3 separate regions of the Homo sapiens genome follow, and regions 1 and 2 are each linked to region 3. The links are contacts of gene promoters, found by promoter capture Hi-C in human tissues and cell types (Jung and others, 2019). All regions are on one chromosome and are shown on one strand. The core of a region is centred on a gene start or on the middle of the fragment in contact, and the rest is flanking DNA. Distances in the headings are between cores, read along the strand shown. Region 1 overlaps JAKMIP1 (janus kinase and microtubule interacting protein 1). Region 2 has its middle 4.7 kb from the start of WFS1. Region 3 holds the start of JAKMIP1 (janus kinase and microtubule interacting protein 1).

What was found. The method cuts DNA at HindIII sites, captures the fragments that hold promoters and counts their contacts. A contact is called where the count stands out against the background at its distance.
Region 1: a fragment that was not itself captured here is called in contact with the fragment with the promoter of JAKMIP1 in region 3 in 3 of the 25 tissues and cell types used here (dorsolateral prefrontal cortex, mesendoderm cells and thymus).
Region 2: a fragment that was not itself captured here is called in contact with the fragment with the promoter of JAKMIP1 in region 3 in 2 of the 25 tissues and cell types used here (pancreas and thymus).

Annotation. Positions count from the first base shown.
Region 1 is chr4:6,076,425-6,079,834 of GRCh38, forward strand. JAKMIP1 (janus kinase and microtubule interacting protein 1) reads right to left here. Exons shown (of 21, transcript NM_001099433.2): 8 at 2,515-2,574. Among named protein-coding and RNA genes, the nearest start is that of C4orf50, 60 kb to the left of the region's middle. The HindIII fragment of the contact is 8,055 bases long and covers 1-3,410 here.
Region 2 is chr4:6,263,600-6,266,733 of GRCh38, forward strand. No RefSeq gene overlaps it. Among named protein-coding and RNA genes, the nearest start is that of WFS1, 4.7 kb to the right of the region's middle. RefSeq lists enhancers at 1-45, 834-2,033. The HindIII fragment of the contact is 5,964 bases long and covers 1-3,134 here.
Region 3 is chr4:6,198,966-6,202,133 of GRCh38, forward strand. JAKMIP1 (janus kinase and microtubule interacting protein 1) reads right to left here and starts at 1,584. Exons shown (of 21, transcript NM_001099433.2): 1 at 1,288-1,584. JAKMIP1-DT (JAKMIP1 divergent transcript) reads left to right here and starts at 1,768. Exons shown (of 4, transcript NR_037863.1): 1 at 1,768-1,974. RefSeq lists enhancers at 60-149, 3,102-3,151 and silencers at 620-969, 1,240-1,999. The HindIII fragment of the contact is 28,205 bases long and covers 1-3,168 here.

The DNA of each region.
Region 1 (3,410 bases), core at 861-3,360, 120 kb before region 3:
GCTGTAAAATTGAAAAAATAATACCAACTATATGGGGTGGCTGTGAGAATTCAATGAGATTGTTTAAATACCCACTCATCTGAGAATCCAGGACCTAGCAAATCACCAATGAGCCAGGCCACTCTAAGTGGCATTACCTGAACGCTGCAGTAAAGGCCACCAGGAGGCAGCCTGGGAGCCAAATTGCACCCATAGATATATTTTATGTGGCCCACAGGTATATATTTTACAGGCTGAGTGTCCTTTATCTGAAATACTTGGAACCAGAAGGAATTTTGGATGTTTTTTCAGATTTTGGAATATTTGCATAAACAGAATAAGGTATCTTGGGGATGGGACCCAAGTCTAAACATGAAATTCATTTGTTTCATATACACTTTATATATAATACATAGCCTGAAGGGAATTGTATATAATATTTTAAATAATTTTGTGCATGAATCAAAGTTTTGATAGTGTTTTTACTGCAACCTGTCACATGAGGCCAGGTGTGAAATTTCCCTGGCCTCATGTTGGTGCTGAGAAAGTTTCAGATTTTGGAGCATTTTGGATTTCGGATTTTTGGATTTTGGATTACGGATGTTCAACCTGTATTTGGACATATAAAATTACAGACATTTAAAATCCAGCATTTAAATCCTTCAATTTCATATAAAGTAAGGTGTTATGGATTAAACTGTATCCCCCCAAAAAGATAGGTCGAGGTCCTAATCCCAGTACCTCAGAATGTGACTTATTTGGAAATAGGATCATTGCAGATGTAGTTAAATTATCATGAGGTCACGTTGGAGTAGGGTGGACTCCTAATCCAGCATGAGTGGTGGCTTTATATGTGAAGCCACAGAGACACACAGGTAGAATGTCACTGACAATGAAGGCAGAGATTGGAGTTCAAGCTGCAAACCAAGGACACCAAAGATTGCTGGGAAACCACTCTAAGCTAGGAAGAGGAAAGGAGGGGTCTGCTACGGGTTTTAGAGGGAGGGAACGTGGCTCTACCGACACCTTAATTTCAGCATTCTGGCCTCTAGAACTGTAAGATAATACATTTCCTTTCCTTTTTTTTTTTTTTTTTTTTTTGAGACAGGGTCTTGCTCTGTCACTGAGGCTGGAGCTCAGTGGCAAAATCATGACTCACTACAGCCTTGACCTCCTGGGCTCAAGCAGTCCTCCTGCTTCAGCCTCCAAAGTAGCTGGGACTTCAGGTGCCACCACATCCAGCTAATTTTTTTAATTTTTTGTAGAGACAGGGTCTTGCTATGTTGCCCAGGCTGATCTCAAACTCCTGGGCTCAAGCGATCCACCCACCCTGGCCTTTCAAAGTGCTGGAATTACAGGCATGAGCCACTGTGCCCGGTCTTTTTCGGTGGCTCTAAGCCACTGATTTTGTGGTACTTTGTTAAGGCAGCCCTAGGAAGCTAACATACAAGGATTTATATTTCCCTTGAAAAACTGGACTATCTGATGCCATCGGTCCACCTTCTTATAGCAACCAGGATTCAGGGCCCAGTTTGCCACAGTCCCCACCATTCCCTGTTGTCACCCTGACACCAAGACCACATGTCTTTGGCCATTCACTATCACATTTGCACAGCTGTTTCCCTTATAGATGAGAAATATTTCTCTATAACCACATCTCCATCAAAAGATAAACCAAACGGGGCACTTGTGTTCAATAAAAAGGAGAGAAGACCAGCCTAGCCAAAATGGTGAAACCCTGCCGCTACTAAAAATACAAAATTTAGCCGGGCGTGGTGGCATGTGCCTGTAGTCCCAGCTACTCGGGAGGCTGAGGCAGGAGAATCATTTAAACCTGGGTGGTGGAGTTTGCAGTGAGCCGAGATGGTGTCACTGCACTCCAGCCTGGACAACAGAGTGAGACTCTGTCTAAAAAAAAAAAACAAAAAAAAAATGGAGAGGAGAACTGTGTCTTTGTGGGAGCCAAAAATAGGTTTACAGGTTTAAAGGCAAACTATGCTTTTTTTTTTTTTTTTGGTATCAGCTCCAGTGCGCTCTTTACATTCCAGATTGGTCCCTGTGGGCATTTGAATTTTATAAGCCCAGCTCCTTCAGACACTGTTACTAGGAAATAGCAAAAGACCTATATTTTCCAAAAAAGACTACAGTTCTGCATGATTCCAAAAAAACACAAAGCTCCTGATTTTTTTAGAACAGGATATGCTCTCATATAAACCAACCCTGAATGTCCCTTAAATCCTTCAAAAGGTTTAAGTATTTATGTTTTTAATTTTGGGTGAATATACCCTGAAGCCTAAGTGGAGAATACATCAGGAAGTTTTCCATGAATAAATTACAATAACTGGGTCACATGACACGGCCATATTTATGTTGCTTTGAGAGACGGTGATGACAGGCTTTTCATCATCAGGCATGCAGAGATGTGTGTGTCTGCTTCAGGACCCCTCTGTAAAACCTCCCCACTCCACGACCCATCTGCCCTGCAGATCCGTGACACAGCGGCAAGGTAGGGCAGGTGCACCATCGCAGGCTCACCTTGGGCGGTTTCAGACTTTTCCCTCGATGCCTTTTGGAGCGCAACAGCCGTTCTCTCTCCTAGAAGGAAACACAACGGTTGGCATTTCCAGCCAGCCTCACATCTCACAAACCAAAGCCACTGGCTCTCAAAGGGAGCTGGGCCTGCCCATCCGCACCAGGCATGGCTAGTTGAAGTTCTAAGTGCCCAAGTGATGGCTGCTTCTCTGAACTGAGAGCTACAGGGAGAGTTTATTATCCACCTTTTGACTTTATTGTTATTTCACTGAAATATATTTTTCATCCTAAGCTGCATTGAGTCTTTTGTGTAATGAAGCAAAGATGGATGGATAGATAGATGTATGCATAGATAAGTGGATGGAAGGATGAAAGAATGGGTGAGTGGATGGATGGATGGGTGGACAGATGGGTGGGTGGATGGATGGATGGATGGATGGGTGAAAGGAAGAAAGAGAGAAGTTAAAGAGGTAGAGGGAGATGGAGGCAGGCAAAATGAACATGAAAATTATAATCAAAGCCTTTTCTAGAATTTTGATCACTAGCTTTTCTATTCTTTGAAAACCAGTGCATGGAACCATCACACACCCACTTTGGTGAGCAGAACACGTTCTACTTCTAAGATCCAACTAAAGCTCCCTGCAGGTGTTCTCTGCCTGTTGCCGAAGTTCCTTTCACAGAGAGCTGTGGAATTCTCTGGATGCAATTCTCCACCGCTTAGGACATACTCAACCCCCTTTGATAGATGCACGCCCCATATACACGTCCAAAACTCACACAGGCAGTCTTAGCAAGGTGCTGGTCTGGTTATAAGGTTCAAGTTTGTGGGCCTAAACTCACAGTCTGCAACTGCTAAGCTAAAAACCAACCAACCAACCAACCAAACAAACAAAAAGCCT
Region 2 (3,134 bases), core at 398-2,897, 65 kb after region 3:
CTTCCCAGTGCACTTGGTGACTCGTCTGTGGGCTGTGAAGTGGCGTTCGCTCTCTGCCTTCAGAGATGAGCACATCACCACTCAGACCCATGGGAGGGCTCAGAACTACCCGGCGACAATGCAGTGTGTGTGTGTGGCAGGTGGGTGTGTGCACGGGGGTGTGTGTGGAGGTGCTGGCAGGCGTAGGCCTCTGATGTGGCACCAGCCCTGGTGACACAGAGCCGTGTGACCAGCACCGAGCCCCCCACGACACCCCCACCAGCCACAACTCCAGCCACTTGGGCTGTGATTCCAAGGAGACTGTAGAGTGGGCAGGGAACTCAGGTTTATAAAGGGAACACTGGGAAGGAGGGAGGAGTGGTGGGCCCAGGGTGGGATATGAGCAGGGAAGTGGGAGAGGACGAAGGAGGGGGGTGGGAGCCCAGAGGCTCTACGGCCCAGCAGCTGCAGGGTGTGTGATCCTGGGAAGCTTCCATACCCTCAGACCCTCGGACAGTGAGGGAGGCTGCCCCGTGTGTCACATTGTGTTAGGAAGATCTGTCGGGGTATAGCAGCAAAGAGAGCTTCCTACCTTAGATGTGGTCAAGGCCTGGTGGGATGGCCTCAGGAAAGAGGCAGTGGATGGGGCACATGGCCTGAGTGAGCTCCAGACCTTGCTAAATTGCAAAGGCACCCATGCGGTTCCTCTGCTGCACCCCTATCCAGGACTCCCCATAGAATGCAGACTTCTGGTCCAGCTGGCCTGGGCAGGACAAGCTCTCCAGGTGGCGCTATGTGCATAGCCTGAGCTAAGCACCTCCAGCTTGCAGCATGGCTTCTCTAGCTTGCTTTATTTATTTATTTAGAAACAGGGTCTCACTATGTCATCCAGGGTGGTCTTGAACTCCTGGGCTCAAGCAATCCTCCTGCCCAAGCCTCCCGAGTACCTGGGACTACAGGCATATGCCACCACTGGCTCCAACCTTAATGTGCATGCAAATCCCAAGGGCATCTTATTAAAATGCAAATTCTGACTGAGGAGGTCCATGGTTGGCGCGGGATTCTGCATTCGTAACAGGCGTCCAGGTGACTGAGGAATGCTGGATGCTGATGTTGCTGGTCTGGTGGACCCATCACACTATGAACCACACTGCTTTATACTCATGGGTCTCAAATGTTCCTATGTCTCACAAACCCCCCAGGAACCTGTTAAAATGCAGATTCCTGGGCCTGGCTCCCAGGGATGCTGACAAGGCTAGTCCTAGGGTTTCGCTGTGCTAGAAGTCCAATGTGTGGCCGACATGCCCAAACATGTTCTGTTCTTTTCTATTCTTATCTCTTTTACTTTTTCTTTCCTTATCTCTTTTACTTTTTCTTTTCTTTTCTCTTCTCTTCTCTTCTCTTCTTTTGAGACAGGGTCTCACTCTGATGCCCAGGCTGGAGTGCAGTGGTGCAATCTTGGCTCACTGCAGCCTCAAACTCCCCAGTTCAAGCAATCCTCCCATTTCAGCTTCCTGAGTAGCTGGGACTATGGGCACATGCCACCACGTCTGGCTGATTTTTAAATTTTTTTGTGGAGATGGGTTTTTGCCATGTTGCCTAGGCTGGTCTTGAACTTCTGGGCCCAAGCAATCCCCCTGGCTTGGCCTCCCAAAGTGCTGGGATGACAGGTGTGCGCTACCATGCCCAACCAGCCGCACATGTTGTTTTTTTGTTGTTGTTTTTTGTGTGTGATGGAGTTTCGCTCTTGTTGCCCAGGCTAGAGTGCAATGGTGTGATCTTGGCTCACCGCAACCTCAGCTTCCCGAGTAGCTGGGATTACGGGCATGCGCCATCAAGCCCGGCTAATTTTGTATTTTTAGTAGAGACGGGGTTTCACCATGTTGGTCAGGCTGGTCTCAAACTCCCGACCTCAGGTGATCCACCCCCCACCTCCAGGCCTCCCAAAGTGCTGGGATCACAGGCGTGAGCCACCATGCCTGGCCCATGTTGTTCTTATCTCATTAACCCAGTGGGCTAAAAACTCATTGCCACACTCAGTAGCTTAAACCACAGAAATGGATTCTGCCACAGTTATGAAGGCCGGAAGTCTGAAATCAGTGTCACTGGGCAAAAATCAAGGAGAATCTGTTCCCTGCTCTTCCAGATTCCAGGGACTGCCTGCATTCCTTGACTTGTGGCCACATAATTCCTATCTTCAATGCCAGCGTCTTGGAATCTCTCTCTGCTCTATGTCCACATCAACTTCTCCGTGTGTGGTCAAATCTCTGTCTGCCTCTCTCCTGCAAGGAGATAAGCCAGGCTAATGGCCCCTTCTCAAAATCCTTAATCACATCTGCAAAAACCCTTTTCTAAATAAGGTACCATTCACAGGCTCCAGGAAGTGATCTCTTTGGGGGCCTTGTACACCAATAGCCTGTAAACCGCCACACTCTGCTGTCTTTCAAATGACAACTCACCAAGCCTCTGTCCTCATTTTCTTTGAATACTTGGCATGTAGTCCAATGCCTGGAACAGGCAGGATGTCACTAAATGTTTATATTTTTTAATTTTTATTTATTTTATTATTATTCTTATTATTTTTGAGACAGAGTTTTACTCTGTCGCCCAGGCTGGAGTGCAGTGGCATGATCTCTGCTCACTGCAACCTCCAGTTCCTGGGATCAAGCGATTCTCCTGCCTCAGCCTCCTGTGTAGCTGGGATTACAGGCATGTGCCATGACGCCCGGCTAATTTTTTTGTATTTTTAGTAGAGATGGGGTTTCTCCATGTTGGCCAGGCTGGTCTCGAACTGCTGACCTCAAGTGATCCACCCACCTCGGCCTCCCAAAGGGCTAGGATTACAGGTGTGAGCCACCACGCCTGGCCAAAAGTCACTAAATGTTTGTTGAGTAAATGGAAGTAGGTTTTAAATAGGTGTAGGGAAGGAAGTGGGCCAAGAACTTGAATGCAGAGTCTGAAAATCATGGGCAGACATCAAAGGACTGAATTGTGGGGGGTATATTTGGATGTCAGGTTAAAGAGTTTGGACACTGTCCTATGGGCAAGAAAGAGCTTATATGAAGTCCTTGCATAGGTGATTCATCCATCCATCCATCCATTCATTCATTCAATACTCAGCAGCAACATGCAGAGCTCAGCTCTTGGGGGAATGA
Region 3 (3,168 bases), core at 334-2,833:
CCCTGCCCTCCTCCCCACCTCCTCCTCTGCTCTGGAAGGCAGAGGCCATCAGATGGTAACAGCATCCTGGGACAGCGCCACGTTCCAGGAAAGCTCAGGAGGGGCAAGGGGATCTCCCTGACTACAAGGAGCTGGCCAGCTGAAGTTAGGGCGTTCGCGGAGAGAGCACAGCACTGGCAAAGGCCAAGGACAGTGTGCCTGCGAGTGTGCGCAGATGGGGCGGGCGGCGGAGGAGGGCTGGCGGTTAGATACAGTATCGCTGGAGCTCAGAGAGCCGGGCAGAGGCTGGCGGAGAGCCGAGGCTGGCCCAGCCTTCAGGAGACCGGCGAGCTGGGGTGTGTGGGAGCGGGATGCTTCTAAGGCGAAAAGAAGCGCCAGCCTCGTAAGCGGCCTCTATCTGGGCTGCCCAGGCCGGATGCTCAGGAGCCCACAGCAGGGGGGATGGAGCGAAGGACCGAGGGGCTGGGAGGCGAGGCCGCAGCGCACTGACGCAGGCCAGCGAGGCCGCTGGCCCCGACGCAGGGCGCCCGGCAAGGTGTCTGGCACCACGAGAGTCAATCCTTGCGCGCCATCTCCGGAGGCCAGTGCGCCCAGGGCGCGCCGGCCCGGCAGGAGGGTGGGTGCCAGCCTTTCTTCCCATCTCTCGAGCCTCCTCCCCGGCGCCCACGTGGGCGGAGCAGCGCGAGGGTGTGCGTGGCAGGGGCCGCGGCGGCGTGTGCCGTGCGTGGGGTGGGGTGCGGGCTGGGCGGCCTCGCCTTCGGGCCCCGCGCCGCCGGGGCGCGGCCCCCAGCTCCATCTTCTTTGCCACCTGGGCGGAGATCTGGGGGACTGTGACCTACCCTGCGGAAGACACGGAGGGGACGGGCCGGCCACACCCCCCGCGCCACTCCGGCAGGCACCGGGTGGGTCCCCCTCCCGCTCCTTGGCTTGAGGGCGGAATCCGGAGAAGAGTGGAAATAGGGGTGGCGTGAAGGAGAGCTGGGGGCTGGGGGCGGGACCGGGAGGGGGTGTTGGGGGAAGCGACGCAGCGGCTGGGAGATTTTGCAAGGGGGTCTGAAGAGGAGTGGGGGATGGGTATGGAAGGGTGGGGGACCACTGAGGTGGGATGCGAGAGTGGAAGGGGGACCCAGAGGGGGCGCGATGGCCGGAGGAGGGGGAGATGGACGATGGGGCGGGGCGGCACCGGTCGCCGCGTCCCTTGCCGCCAGGTCCGCCCCTCGGTCGCCGGGTCCACGGGTTCCCTCTGGCCAGCGCTCGCCTCCCGCCCCCCGGCGCACCTGTACCCACCTGCTCGGCGCTCAGGCCCGAGCCGGGCAGCAGCAGCGGACGTAGCGAGCGCAGCCCCGCGCCGCATCCTCCGGCCGCCCCCTCCCCGCTGCGAGCTTACGCCGCTGTCGCCGCCGCCACCGCCTTAAAAAGGACAAAACGGAACAGAAAATGAATGCATGCACAAAAAAAATCGTAAAAAGCAATTGAGGAGGATGGCAGTCGCGCGCGCGGCTCGGCGGGGCGGGAGTCGAGAGGCCGCGGCACTGGTGGCCGCGATCCGGGCAGGCGGCCGGCGCGTGCCGCACGCGGGTGGCTGCAGCTCCCTCGGTCGCCCGCGCCCGGCTCAGGCACGGCACCGCCCCTCCCCCCGGGGAGCCCCTCCGATTGGTCTGTCTTCCTGCCAGTCAGGCAGGAGGGCGCGGCGCCCGCCCCGCCCCGCCCCCGCCCCCGCCCCGGGCAGATGCCGGGAGCTCTCCTGCCGCCGTGGGAGGGGGAGCTGAGCTGCCGGAGCGTGCGCACTGGGCCAGCGGGCGGCCGGGGCAGGGCTGGGGTCCCGGCGCTGAGCGCCCCCAGCCGCGCCGGGCAGCCTGGCGCCTCGCTGAGTCGGAGCAACCCCCGGCAGGAGCTTTCAGGCTCTGGTCAAGCCTCGGGACCCGGGAAGCTATCCCTGCCCTCGGGGGCTCGAGCCTGGAGTGGGGCTTGCAGGTAAAGCGGGGCTGGGGCCGTCCTGGCCGTCAGTGGTCAGGAAGACGCAGCGACCCCGGAGATCCATGTCCCCCTCTGTACGCATGAGAGGTCTGAAGGTCAGAGGTTAAAGCGCACGCTAACGGCGGCAGAGCCAGCAAGCGGCAGAGCTGGGCGGATGCCAGCCTAGGGAGCCTCCCCCCACCAGCCCAGGCTGCCCCCAGCAAAGCCACATCAGCAGGTCATAGCCAAATGAAAGATGTGCTGTCGAGCTGAGACTTGGGAGGGGCAGGACTCAGCTGGGCAAACATTCATTCAGTGTCATTAGACAAATATTTATTGAGCACTTGCTGTGTGCCAGGTAGTCACTAAGATGTGGGGACACCACAGTGAACAGCAGAGAGGAAGCGGCTGCCCACCAGAGCTTACTTTCTAGCAAGGAGAAGGCAGGGAAGAGCACCCACCAAAGGGAGCAGCATGGGGGAACACCCTGACTGCTGTGAACGGGACATATTTGAGAATCTGATAAAAGTATCTGGGCCACAGAATGGTGAGAGGGAGTGTGTGGAAGATGGGGGGCGGGGGCACAGAGGGGCAGCACTTGCAAGGTCTTGCAGGCTGGCGAGAGTTTGGAGACTGTCTCACCTGGAAGGTGGTCCCATGGACCATTGTCAGATTGATATTTTTTAAAGTGCATCAGTCAGGATAAGCTATGTTAGCCACAGTAACAACCAAACCCAAATCTCCCTGGTGTGTCTTGCCCACATCATACATCCTGCCTCGGTCAATGGGGCTCTGTTCATCAGAGTGGTTGGGAGCCCAAGCTGCTGGGGCTGTCTGCCAGCCGAGCACCCACATGGTGCAGCAATGTGAATGAAAGGTGACAATTATGCTGGCTTTGAAGGCTTCCTCCCCGAAGGGACTCTCGTCACTTCTGCTCACGTTTCATTGGCCAGAGCAGGTCACATGGCCATGCCTAACTTCAGAAGAGGAGGAAGTGCAGACCTCTAAGGTTCAGGGGGTCAGGAGGAACTAGGATATCTGTGAGCAGATGTGAGACTATCTTTAGCAGATGCCCTGGCTGCCCTTGGGGCATGGGCTGAAGTAGTCAAGAGTGGGGACAAGGAGGCAGTGTGGGGGCCTCCTCCACGCTGATACAGTGAAGTATCAGCGCATCAGAGCAATCTGGGTGCAGAATTGGCAGGACATGCTCAC